2 separate regions of the Homo sapiens genome follow, and region 2 is linked to region 1. Evidence: promoter capture Hi-C in 16 types of primary human blood cells and fetal thymus (Javierre and others, 2016). All regions are on one chromosome and are shown on one strand. The core of a region is centred on a gene start or on the middle of the fragment in contact, and the rest is flanking DNA. Distances in the headings are between cores, read along the strand shown.

Region 1 (6,120 bases), core at 1,814-4,313:
AATTCAATATCAATTTAAAATGAATACATGTTACTAATTACATAGAGACTTAATGTATGTTTAAAATAGTATATATATGTGTGTGTGTGTGTGTGTGTGTGTGTGTGTGTGCGCGCGCTTTAGTCTATAGATAATTCGATTTACCAACCCCTTGGAAAGGAATCCCAGTACATCTCAAACTGGGAATTGCTGACATTGCTGATGTATTAAAGTGACTTCCTAATTGGAAAATTCTATATGACCCGGTTATTTTCTTCCCAAACCATTCTATCTTTAAATAAGCTTTGTGCCTTTAAGAGGAATTATGATTATACCGCATACTATGTATATATATTTAAATGAACAATTAATGAAAATTGTTCCCAATTATTTAAAAAAAAAAAAGAAGAAGAATACTATTTTGCGGAGGCAGTGCGTGCAAATCCTCTGATGTGTCATGGTGGAGTCATTCTCAATATCTAATGGCTAGAAAATTGAGTAAACATAGAACTAATAAAGAAAAGATTTCTTCACATCATATAAAATCAGCCTACAAAAGAGTACATTGCTGTGGAAAATTTTGAGACAAGCACAGGGATTTTTTTCACAGTGATGATATCTCATGCTTGCAGGCATTAGTTACAAAGTTAAAAAATTCCTCTTCACATATCAATACCATAGAAGTGACTGTTGTCAATTATTGTCAGCATGACCCATTCTCCCCATCACATCCCCACCATCTTTCTTTTCAGCATAAAACACACTATATTTAAAGAAACAAGCCATTAATCAGGATTAAAAACTCTTCCTCTCACTCTTTGCAAGTACCTGATAGAAAATGCTCCCAGTTGACATTCCATTCGTTTGAATTCTGCTTCCATTCCTCAAAAACACTGGGACTATTTTTTTTTCCAGATCCAATTTGTAGGACAAAAGCCATTATATAACCATAAAAGTCACTTTACCTCTTTCTAATTTATGAAACTTGTGATCTCTACCAATGCTCCATAAAACTATAACCCATTTCTAATATCATTTTCCTTGGTTCCATTTCTTCTTTTCCAAAATAAGCTATTAAGTGAGAAGTCACTCAATGCCTGCTTTCTTGATAGATTTGGAAGCTAGACTTAGGAACCCAGCCTACCTCTATCCTACTGTTCATTGATTCATTTAACTTACAAATATTGACCAACTACCAAGTACCACCATCTTAAGCATCAACGTTTGCATATAATGGTAGGTATTTTTAGTGAGCACTAACTCGGTACTAGGCACTCTACTAAGCACTTTCATTATTTTCCTATGCGCTGGATACTATTATTATCCCTGTTTTACGTATGAGGAAATTGAGACAGATTAAATAACTTGTCCAGGAATTCACACACAGACAGTTTAAATCTTAACCCCTGATAACATGATGAAGTATTTGTTTCTTTTTTTTTTTTTTTTGAGACGGAGTTTCGCTCTGTCGCCCAGGCTGGAGTGCAGTGGCGCGATCTCGACTCACTGCAAGCTCCGCCTCCCGGGTTCACGCCATTCTCCTGCCTCAGCCTCCCGTGTAGCTGGGACTACAGGCGCGCGCCACCATGCCCGGCTAATTTTTGTATTTTTAGTAGAGACGGGGTTTCACTGTGTTATCCAGGATGGTCTCGATCTCCTGACCTCGTGATCCGCTCGTCTCGGCCTCCCAAAGTGCTGGGATTACAGGCGTGAGCCACCGCGCCCGGCCGAAGTATTTGTTTCTAACAAGAGCATTCTGGACATTAAAGGGCCTTAGAGTATGAGAGAAAAAAGCCAGAAAAAAAAAAGGAATAGTAATAATAATTTTTTAAAAAGTAGAAATAAAAAGGTAAGGAGTTAACATCCATTAGATTCCATTTTCTATTCAAATATGTATATTTACATACAGTACTGCTGAATTGACTCACAGTTCTTAGGTCCTATAGAGGAGTGCAGTGAAAAGGAAGACAATTTACACAGTACAGAGCTGAACATAGGACTTACAAACAAAAAAAAAGTCAAGGAATACAAAGTAGCTTTCCCAGGTGTAAAGTACCGGGTCTAGAATTCTATGAGGCTAGGGAGAAGATAAACGACAAAAGCTATAAGAGATCAGAATGAAAAGAGATCCACAAGCCTAAGAAGCCCAGGCCCTTGAGGAGAACCATGAATTTGAGCAGGATTTCACTAATTCCTTTAAAAAGTAGCCATTGCCTCAAAGTACGACTCCATCAGCATAGGCAGGAAAGTGGGAGTGAGGAAAGGCTTAGAGTTTTCCAGCCTGGCTGGGGTCAGACAATTTGCCTGGGGAAATAGTGGGAGCTGAGGTTGAAAAGACCGATTGGCTTCACGTTTGTGGCAGGCCTTGTCCAAAAAGCAATAGGAAGTCGTTGAAAGGTTTTGTGCAGGGGAGCGACAGGATTAAGGCACTACTTAGTAGGAAGTCATATCAAAAGCAGCAACCTGACAAATGGCAAATACGACAGAAGGAAAAAAAATAACAGGAATTTTCTTCACAATGACTCGACTTTGAGGTAATAAATGCCTGAGCCACATTGGAAGCAGGGGTCTCAGAAGGAAGGCGCAGATGGGAAAGGCTTTTCTGGGCGGTGGCGTTTCAATGCAAGGAGGGCGCTTGAATCACTGACAGACTTCAAGTTAAGGGAGTTTTCGTGGCTGAGGTTAGTAAGTCACACGCACAGCTCTCCAAAGGCATGTATGGGGAACGCCAGCCTTGGCTAAAAGACTGATTCAAGTTATGTCCGTCACCCTGAGCAACCAAAACCACCCACTACAGGGCAGGTGACCCCACAAAGCAAACCAAGCCATCTGGTCCACGCTCCCCACCTCCCGGAGGGAGATGGAAAAGTTTCGGGAGTAGTCCCCGGCCAATCGGAAAGACATTTTTTCATTCCTCAACCACTACTCTCAGGTGCTCCAGGGAGGGAGGATGACTTCCTGACGGTCCTCCTGCCGCTCCTCCCTCGGGCCAATTATGAAACTCTGGGCACTCTTGACCTCACCCCGTTAGGGCCCGGGAGGGGCTCCCTAGTATAAAGTTCGCAGCACCAGACAGTTGAGCTCACTTGCCTGATATTTCCAGTGTCAGAGGGACACAGCCAACGTGGGGTCCCTTCTAGGCTGACAGCCGCTCTCCAGCCACTGCCGCGAGCCCGTCTGCTCCCGCCCTGCCCGTGCACTCTCCGCAGCCGCCCTCCGCCAAGCCCCAGCGCCCGCTCCCATCGCCGATGACCGCGGGGAGGAGGATGGAGATGCTCTGTGCCGGCAGGGTCCCTGCGCTGCTGCTCTGCCTGGGTAAGTTCTCCCCCTCTGGCTTCCGGCCGCCCCAAAGAGGAGACAAATAAGGAAGGCTCCTGTGCATTTGTCATTCGACAAGTACGGAGTTGTCTCCAGGTTCAAGTGTGCTCTATTTAAAATTACGTCTTGTTTTGTGAGTCTGTCTTCCCCTATGGTGGGACTGGGGTGGGGGGGACTGGGGATCGATGTTAAAATGCTTTTTATTGGTGAATTAATTATTGGCATATATGTTATGCATGGATTGAAATATCTCCTTATTAAACAAAATAAAAAGTTGTTGAAAAAGCTTTTTTTTTTTTTTTGAAAAGTTGCCAGTCCTAGAAATCTAAAGGCCTGGAACGCACTGTTAACATTTCATGTCTTGTTCCTTTTTGTTGGAGAGTGGGGAATAGAAACTAGCGTAAGAAATTTTTTGGAGGGGGGAAAAAGCTTTTCTCCTCTGTCTTGCGCTCAGTTTTCTAAAACCTAGCCTGGTTTAGCTTTCCCGGAGGAGCTGGTATGCGCCAGTGCCAGTTGGCTGAGCTCCAGACACAAGAGAAATAAAACACTGGTCGAGGGTATCTGGAGCAGAAGGGCCCTGGGCAGGTCCTGGCGCTCCCCACCGCCCTTCGCCCCTACACCTGCTGCTTGCGTTTTTCCCTGCAGCCTCCCAAGCAGCCTCTGGAGCAAGCGTTCTGCACTTGCTGCTAATTGCACTCCATAGCCTGTGATCGCTGAGGGTATTTAAATGCCAGTCTTCCTATTTGAGATGATTTAGTTCAAGGGGAAAAATTTTCTAAATAGCCTTTCTGTTAAAAAAAAATTACTTCTTTCCAATTCCTTAAACTTCAGTTTAAGGAATTTGAAAGAGTTTGAAGTCGTATATGAATATCTTAATAAAAAAATAAAAGTTACCACCAGTCTCATATTCTCCCTGGAGTTGGAATGAGGCTGATTCCCCAGACACTCTAACTCTACCTGTGAAGGATGTGACTGTTAAATTATTATTTTGGCACACCTTATCTCAGGGGTTGAGAGACCTAATGAAATGCATACTATGCATAATTGAAACTTACAAGTCTAAGTCCAGGAACACAAGTGGAAACTAGATATGTGGTTTCTGCCAAAACTGAGCTAAGAAAGACTTGCTAGAAGATTCTCAGTAAACAATGTGGCTTTGCTGTCTTTGTTTTGAAAAGAATTAAATTAGAAAGGTGACAGTCTTCCTAGAGTTAGAAATTAACCTCGAGGTCAGAATAACTTAGCACTTATTATTTTCCCCACATGTAAGGTTGCATCTGAACAATGCACATGTCTGTTCTGGGTGTTTCATTGAATATTCTAATTTGAGACAGCCAGAGCCTGTGAATAACCTGGTTACTACCCACTAGTGTGTGTGTTGTGTGTGTGTTTGTTGTCATGAAAGTGCTTACCTCCTTCATTGCATTACTTAATTATAGTTCATCTATTTCGTCAGCTGCCAAGCCCATTTCCAAATGAGTTAGGTCAGTTTCTGTTTTCCCAGTTTGTTTGGATATTTCTCTGCCACTAGGAAAGTTCCTGTTTCAAGTTCTGTATTATATCTCTAAACTCTATTCAGTTATGCAGAGCCCATAGCCTTATTTTGGCAAGACCACCTGTTATTTCTGAAATTGCCTTCTTTCCCCCAAACAAAATATTTCCTAAAAATACTTTTCCCAAATCTTGTCCTTCCCCCAGCAAAAAAGAGCGAGACATTTATTTTAAATTTTAGCATACATGTTATAACTGCTTTATGTAGTTATGACTAGGGAATAAAGTTCCAGCCTCCACCCTTAACACATACAGATTTAAATTGCTATGCACAATCATTTGGTTACTTTTAAATTTTACACTTGTTTAATATTGAGGCTCTTGTTTTATAAATTGGGGAACTGTGACCCAAGTTCACATAGAAAAATAGTGACAAAGTGAGAGTCCACACTTGGGCTTGCTAGCATTTTTGGCCTACTGAACATTAAGTAGAAGAGTTGAAATACCGGATAACATTTTTTTAAATAATCTATAATTTTAGAGCAGAATTTTGTCTTTTTTATCTTGTGATTTTTCTAAAGAGAGGAGGATAAATTTTTATGTTGAATTCTGCAGTTATGTTCAGGGGCTTTCTATTTAACATCAAACATTTTTATTCATGCCTACATGGGTTTTTGAATATGTTCCTGAATGACATCTCCAAGATAATTTAGTCGTACTTCATCAATGAGAGAGAATTAAGCAGAAGAAATATTCTTTTTTGAAAATATGAGGAGCATAAATCTCAATGAGACAATAGGCTTGTCTTTGATCATTTCTGTTGACTCTGAGAGTTTATGAGTTACCTGAGTCTTGGCACAACCTGAGATGACAAATCTTGTCAGAAAACGTGATGACAGGCCTTTCCTGTCTGGATTTTGACCAGGTACCCTCACCACCTTCTGCACAGTCTTGCCATGTGAGCAGCTTGGGTAATTGGGGTGTCTGATTCAGCACTAAGACCCAAATCCAGGAGTTGAGAAGAAAACTAACAGTTACTAAATGCCTACTGTGTGGCAGCCATGTTGTGTATTAGGTGCTTTAAATACATCATCACCTCTACTTCTTAAAATAACTGTGTGAGGTAGATTTGATTAGCCCAGTGAAGTCAAGTACCTTACAAAGACTCAGAGATAGTAAATGGCCAGGTCACTCTGTGATAATGAGGAAAGAGCCAATGAGATTCAGGGTTAGCAGGAGCATAATAAACATAGCAGATTCTAATAGAGAAGTTCCAGAGTAGCTGGGGCTGCTCCAGGGTTCAGACCCTCTCATAGGCACAGCACATGTACA
Region 2 (5,446 bases), core at 1,361-3,860, 330 kb after region 1:
TAAAGCCTATAGCTTTTAAATGAGCATGCTTTATTTCCATTATACTTAGCATTAAGAATTCTAAGCTCTGGATTCTTCTCTCCATCTTAGAAGACCACAGTTCTTCATTATGTATACCCATCACCATCGCCCCAGCTAAGTCAGATCAATTTTATATTTAATCTAGAATACAGCTGCCTTAGATTGAAGGAGACAGGATGTATCACTAGCTGTTATTGGCAGTTTAACAGTTTCTGCTCCTGAGTGCAAATAAATTGACTGACAATAAATGTATGTTCCAGTATTTAGTTGAACAGAAAGGAGAGTTTATAGAAAAGAGGCCTAACCCACTAGATGGGAAATAGAAAAAAAAAAATCAGTTTGAGGTGAGATATCATGACCTAATTAGTCAATTCTAAAACTATTTCTCAATATCCTGTGTTTTGCTTCAGATGGTAGAGGTCACCCATCTTATTTACATATACTCACTACTACCATCCCAGCCAAAGCATATCAATTTTAGATTTCTCTGAGAATACAGGTCTCCTGGACTGGAGCTAACTGTTCCCATATATGGGATCTGTCAATAAGGAAATATGGTAAGGAGAATCCTAGGGAAATCTATATACACAGAGGCAGGTAAATTGCCCCCAGCAAGGCCAGACCTCATAAAATCTTATGAAAGGGGTTCCCTGATCTACACCTTCTTGATAATGATATAATAAACAGCAATAAAAACTCAGTTATAGATTATTAAGAACTTTTATTTCCTGCTAAATATTTTATATAATACTCGCCATTCTTGTACCAATTCTGAGAAGAGAGAAGTTACTATTCTTCATTGTATAGGTAAGGAGACGGCAATTTGGGGAAGTTAAATAAGTCTTCCAAAGTCATATCTCTGATAAGTGAAGAGCACAGAATTCAAATTCTATGTCTGTTTCATCTGAAAACTACATAATACTTTGGTTAAAACATATGAAATTACCATTTTTGTAGATCAAAGGTAGTCAGATATTGGCAATTTCACATGGTACAACCTAACACATTATCAACTCTCAGCTTAAAAAGTCTGTTAAAAGTCTGAGAGATTTTAGATTTGCACAACCCAAATGAGGAGATTTTAGATTTGCACAGCTAATATTCACAACAACCCCAGGGAGCAAACAGATAGCTGAGAGGGACACCACCTGAAGTGGCACAATAGACTATGTAAATTGCAGAGCCGGAGTCAACTTCCTTAATTCTTTAGGACAGGCTTCAGAAGACCTGTCCTGTAAAGAGCCAGATAGGCAATATTTTCAGCCTAAAGGCCATACTGCCTCTGGCACACTACCCAACCCTGCAGCTATAGCATGCAAACAGCCATAGACTACATAAACAGATGGGTATGGGCATGTTCCAATTCAGCTTTCTTTACAAAAATAGTCCAACTCCTAATCTAATGATTTCCCTGGATTTTCTTAGAGAGATTATAGCAAGAGAATTATCACTCAGTCTAATACAGAAAAACCTACTGGATGCAGAGGGCTTACACACAAAGGGAGACAAGATAGCTTAGTTTTAATGGTCTTGGCTCTGGGATCAGACTGCTGAGCTTTGAATTTCAGCTCAGACACTTGTCTGCTGTGTGACTTTGAGTAAGCACTTCAACTAAACCTCAATATTCTTATCTGTACAATGGAATATTAATATCCACTCCATAGAGTTATGAGAATGAAAGAACTTATACAATGCCTGAGTGCAATGCCTGGTATATGGAAAACACTCAGTAAAATTTATTGGGTGTTAAAAGGGACTTTCCCAGGGGTCTTGGCATTTTTTGGCTAAACTCCTGCAGTTAAGGACATTAGTGATAAGGACCTACACTCTTTGAAGAGATCACTCTTTACAATTTGCATGCAGGATATTAGAAAAAAGCCATCCCAGTATTGTGAACATCACTCTTTCTAGGCTCTATGAGAGGAAAATTGACATTCAAAATGGGGGCCGCAAAAAGGGAATTGATAGAGGGAGCATCAGGGGGATGTGAGTGGCAGTTTTCTTTCCTCTCCCTAAGTCATGTAAAGAAAGCCATGTAAGGGAAGACTTCCCTTACAAGGACCCCTGTTAGAGAATCTCCAGAACCTCTGTTAGAGATGGAAGAAGAGATGAGCACCTCATTCCTATTTACCAAACCGCAGAAATGCAAGTCCAGGCGCTTTCACTAAAGAGGAGAAAAACATGCTGAGAGAGCTAAAGAGGAAAAACATCACATAGATCCCCATGAATGTAAGAATTACAAGAACATAGAGACTGATATCTGTCTCCCACATGAAGAATGCAAAAGGCAGAAGAAATGCTGCGGTGGTAGAGAAGAGCAGAGCAACAATAAAGTGGCCAACAGTTGGGTCAGTTATACGCCCACCATTTAGTGGTGAAATATGCGTGAACTTCTTCCTGCCAGTTAAGTGATGGCACAGAAAATAGTTAAGCATAAGCTGTTGAAGTAGATCTAATTCAAACATGTCACTTCTAGAATGAGTGAGGTGCACTAGGGTTTCAGAGGGTACATCTGTGAAGGGAAGTTCACAATAGACCAGCTGTTTGTGCACTGCCTCCCTCAAAGGTAACAGAAGACACCAACTATCCTATCGCCACAGCTCCAGGCAGATACAACTCTATACCTCTTCCTTTAATTTTTCCTTTCTCTTCCCTAAACTTCAACTTCCTCGTTCCTGAAGCCAGCAACAGGAAAGTGTATGGGTGAAGGAATAATGAAAAACAGGCATGGTCCCTCTTTCCACAGCAGCCTCCAGGCCAAAAGTCAGGACAGAAATTACCGGGGAGGAGGAAGATTTTTAATTGCATGTGACATTGAAATATTAACTGTACTGCACTTTTTAATGCCTTTGGTGAAATTTAGAGTCAACAAAAATGACTGCTATTTAAGAGCTGAAGCCAATAGGTATGTGGGGCTCTGCCTAAAATGTCATCTAAGGTATGGAAGGGAGATAAGAAACAGAATGTTGGAGGGAAGTCGTGGGAGAAAACTTAAATCATTTTCTTCTTGTGAGCCTACTGATTTCAGGTTGCATTTTCTCTTATTAAAACCAGACCTGTGCATGTACATGAAAGAGGAGAGCAAGATTTGTAGAAAAAGTAGGGGGTGGATATTTTAGCCAGGGCATGGCCATGATATGGGGTATATCTGGAGGCAAAGAAAGAAGTGTGAGTTTGGGCAAGAAGATTATTTCCAAATGAAAGACATGAGGTGCCCCAATAGAGACTGTTTTCCTCCTTGCCTTAAGGTAATAATGACTTTTATCTCAGGAAGAGAAGGATGGGCATAGGAGCCTGCCACCAGACACAAGTCTTTGGCTATGATTTTTCACACATGGAATTAATCCAGAGAAAATAGACAAGAAAGCTAAATTTTTAAAGAAACTGTAGTGACAGAGGAATCCCAGCCCTGGCTAATGGTAACCTTGTGAGTGCTTAATCCATAAAGCGGGATTAGGGTCCTTAAACTTGTACCACTGGGAAGGACCTGAAAAAGATGTGCAGGCTCCCAGAAAGTCGTCTTGCCTGTGTTCATGGAGGACAATGAACAATGAGGAATCTCACTGTGGCAGAACTAGGAACTGCCAGTTTGGTTAACCAAGAAGTGCAGTCTTTTCCAAGTCCGGTGGTCCCTACAATTCTTTTTTTTTTTTTTTTTTTTTTGACAGAGTTTTGCTCTTGTCACCCAGGCTGCAATGCAATGGTGCGATCTCAGCTCACTGCAACCTGCGCATCCCAGGTTCAAGTGATTCTCCTGCCTTAGCCTCCCAAGTAGCTGGGATTACAAGTGTCTGCCACCATGGCCAGCTAATTTTTATATTTTTAGTAGAGACAGGGTTTCGCTGTGTTGGCCAGGCTGGTCTTGAACTCCTGACCTCAGGTGATATACCCGCCTGGGCCTCCCAAAGTGCTGGGATTACAGGCATGAGCCACTGGGCCTGGCCTATCCCTGCAATTTTTAACAAACAAGATTTGCTATTTTTTACAGATAGAAACTGCTTTTTGTTTGCCATTATCACATTTTTTATATGAAAATTCTTTCTCCATCATTGTATGTTGTACACATTGAAGACAGATAATTAACTTTTGACTTATGAGTCACTAGAACGTAAGCTACACTCAGATTTGACAAATAGGACAGCATATCACACAGAGGTCCTGAATTTCAAGCTGGATGTGGTAACTGAATGAAACTTTGGTGTGGTCTTCACTGGAAAGGCGAGAGACCCGCAATAATGAGGAACAAGGGCCTGGGAATGTTGGGTAGCCAAGGGAATGGGTAAAGGTAAATGTGGTGGTTTGTCTATCCAAAGGCTCTTCCCTATGCCCCTCTCCTGACCTCCTCAATTGCGGGGGCTGGAAAGCTAAAGCACTCACCTTCCCAGACATGCTTGTAGCTCAGGGTAATCAAGTAGCCCAGAACTGGCCAATGAGGCATGGGTAGAAGTTACTGGTGAGATTTCCAAGAAATATGATTGGTTTTTAAGGGACAGTCTGGCCAAAGGCTGTCGTTCCCTTTGGTCCTTCCGTCTTCCTGACCCCTTCCTTTTTCTTCTTGCCTAGACTAGGTAATTAATACCTGGAGGTGTAGCAGGCATTTTACAACAGTGAAGTAGAAATTTTAAAATGGTGGAACGAGACAGAAAGAGCTCCTATGACACCATTGAGAAGCTGCTCCAGAGCCACGCTTCTTATGACATGAGAAAAATAAACTCCTATCTGGTGGAACTACTGTGATTGAATCTTCTGCCATTTGGATGTGAATTAATTCTTAACTGACATAATGTGGACTACATGCTCCAGTCATTAAAGTATATGTTTTAGAAATAAGAGTATTTATCAAAGTGTGTTAAAAGATTTTGATCAAAAGTCAGTCCTATGAACAATGGTTTGGGAAACACCAAGTTAAAGCAAATTAAACAGCTTACTTTATTTAAGGAAGTACAGGATACTGCATTTCCCTCACTTATTTCATTATCAATTTCAATGCCCTGGTTTCACTAGAACAAAGTTTGGGAAATTCTGGTGTATGACATATCAATAATATAGGACATAATTAATAACTTTTTCCTAAGTAAAAAAACAGGTTATAGTATGTATTTATGTTTACGAAGATTATGTCTTCTGAACATTTTTATCTATTTACTTGTTTTTCCATACTATCTAAATAAAATATAACTACTTATGTCATTCTTGTAATCAGAAAAAAAAAAACACAATACTGTTTTCTCAGTAGAATTCTGCTTACTTGGGGGGAATGAATGGAGACATGTGTTAAGTTCTTGCATGTTGTATTAAGTAATAGAACTACATTCCGGTAATGTATCTGCCTTAGATAGCATGACTATTCTAAGGCTGCTTCATGGATCACGAGGTCAAGAGATTGAGACCATCCTGGCCAATATGGTGAAACCCTATCTCTACT

The links. Contacts are between HindIII fragments. The CHiCAGO score rates a contact against its expected background, and 5 or more counts as called.
Region 2: a fragment that was not itself captured here is called in contact with the fragment with the promoter of EREG in region 1 in 4 of 17 cell types (activated CD4 T cells, non-activated CD4 T cells, naive CD4 T cells and 1 more); the score reaches 7.2 in activated CD4 T cells.

Annotation. Positions count from the first base shown.
Region 1 is chr4:74,362,082-74,368,201 of GRCh38, forward strand. It overlaps EREG (epiregulin), which reads left to right and starts at 3,064. Exons shown (of 5, transcript NM_001432.3): 1 at 3,064-3,294. The coding sequence starts at 3,228. It overlaps LOC105377276 (a long non-coding RNA gene), which reads right to left and starts at 3,260. Exons shown (of 3, transcript NR_188415.1): 1 at 3,070-3,260. The HindIII fragment of the contact is 3,301 bases long and covers 281-3,581 here.
Region 2 is chr4:74,694,995-74,700,440 of GRCh38, forward strand. No RefSeq gene overlaps it. Among named protein-coding and RNA genes, the nearest start is that of BTC, 97 kb to the right of the region's middle. The HindIII fragment of the contact is 7,353 bases long and covers 1-5,446 here.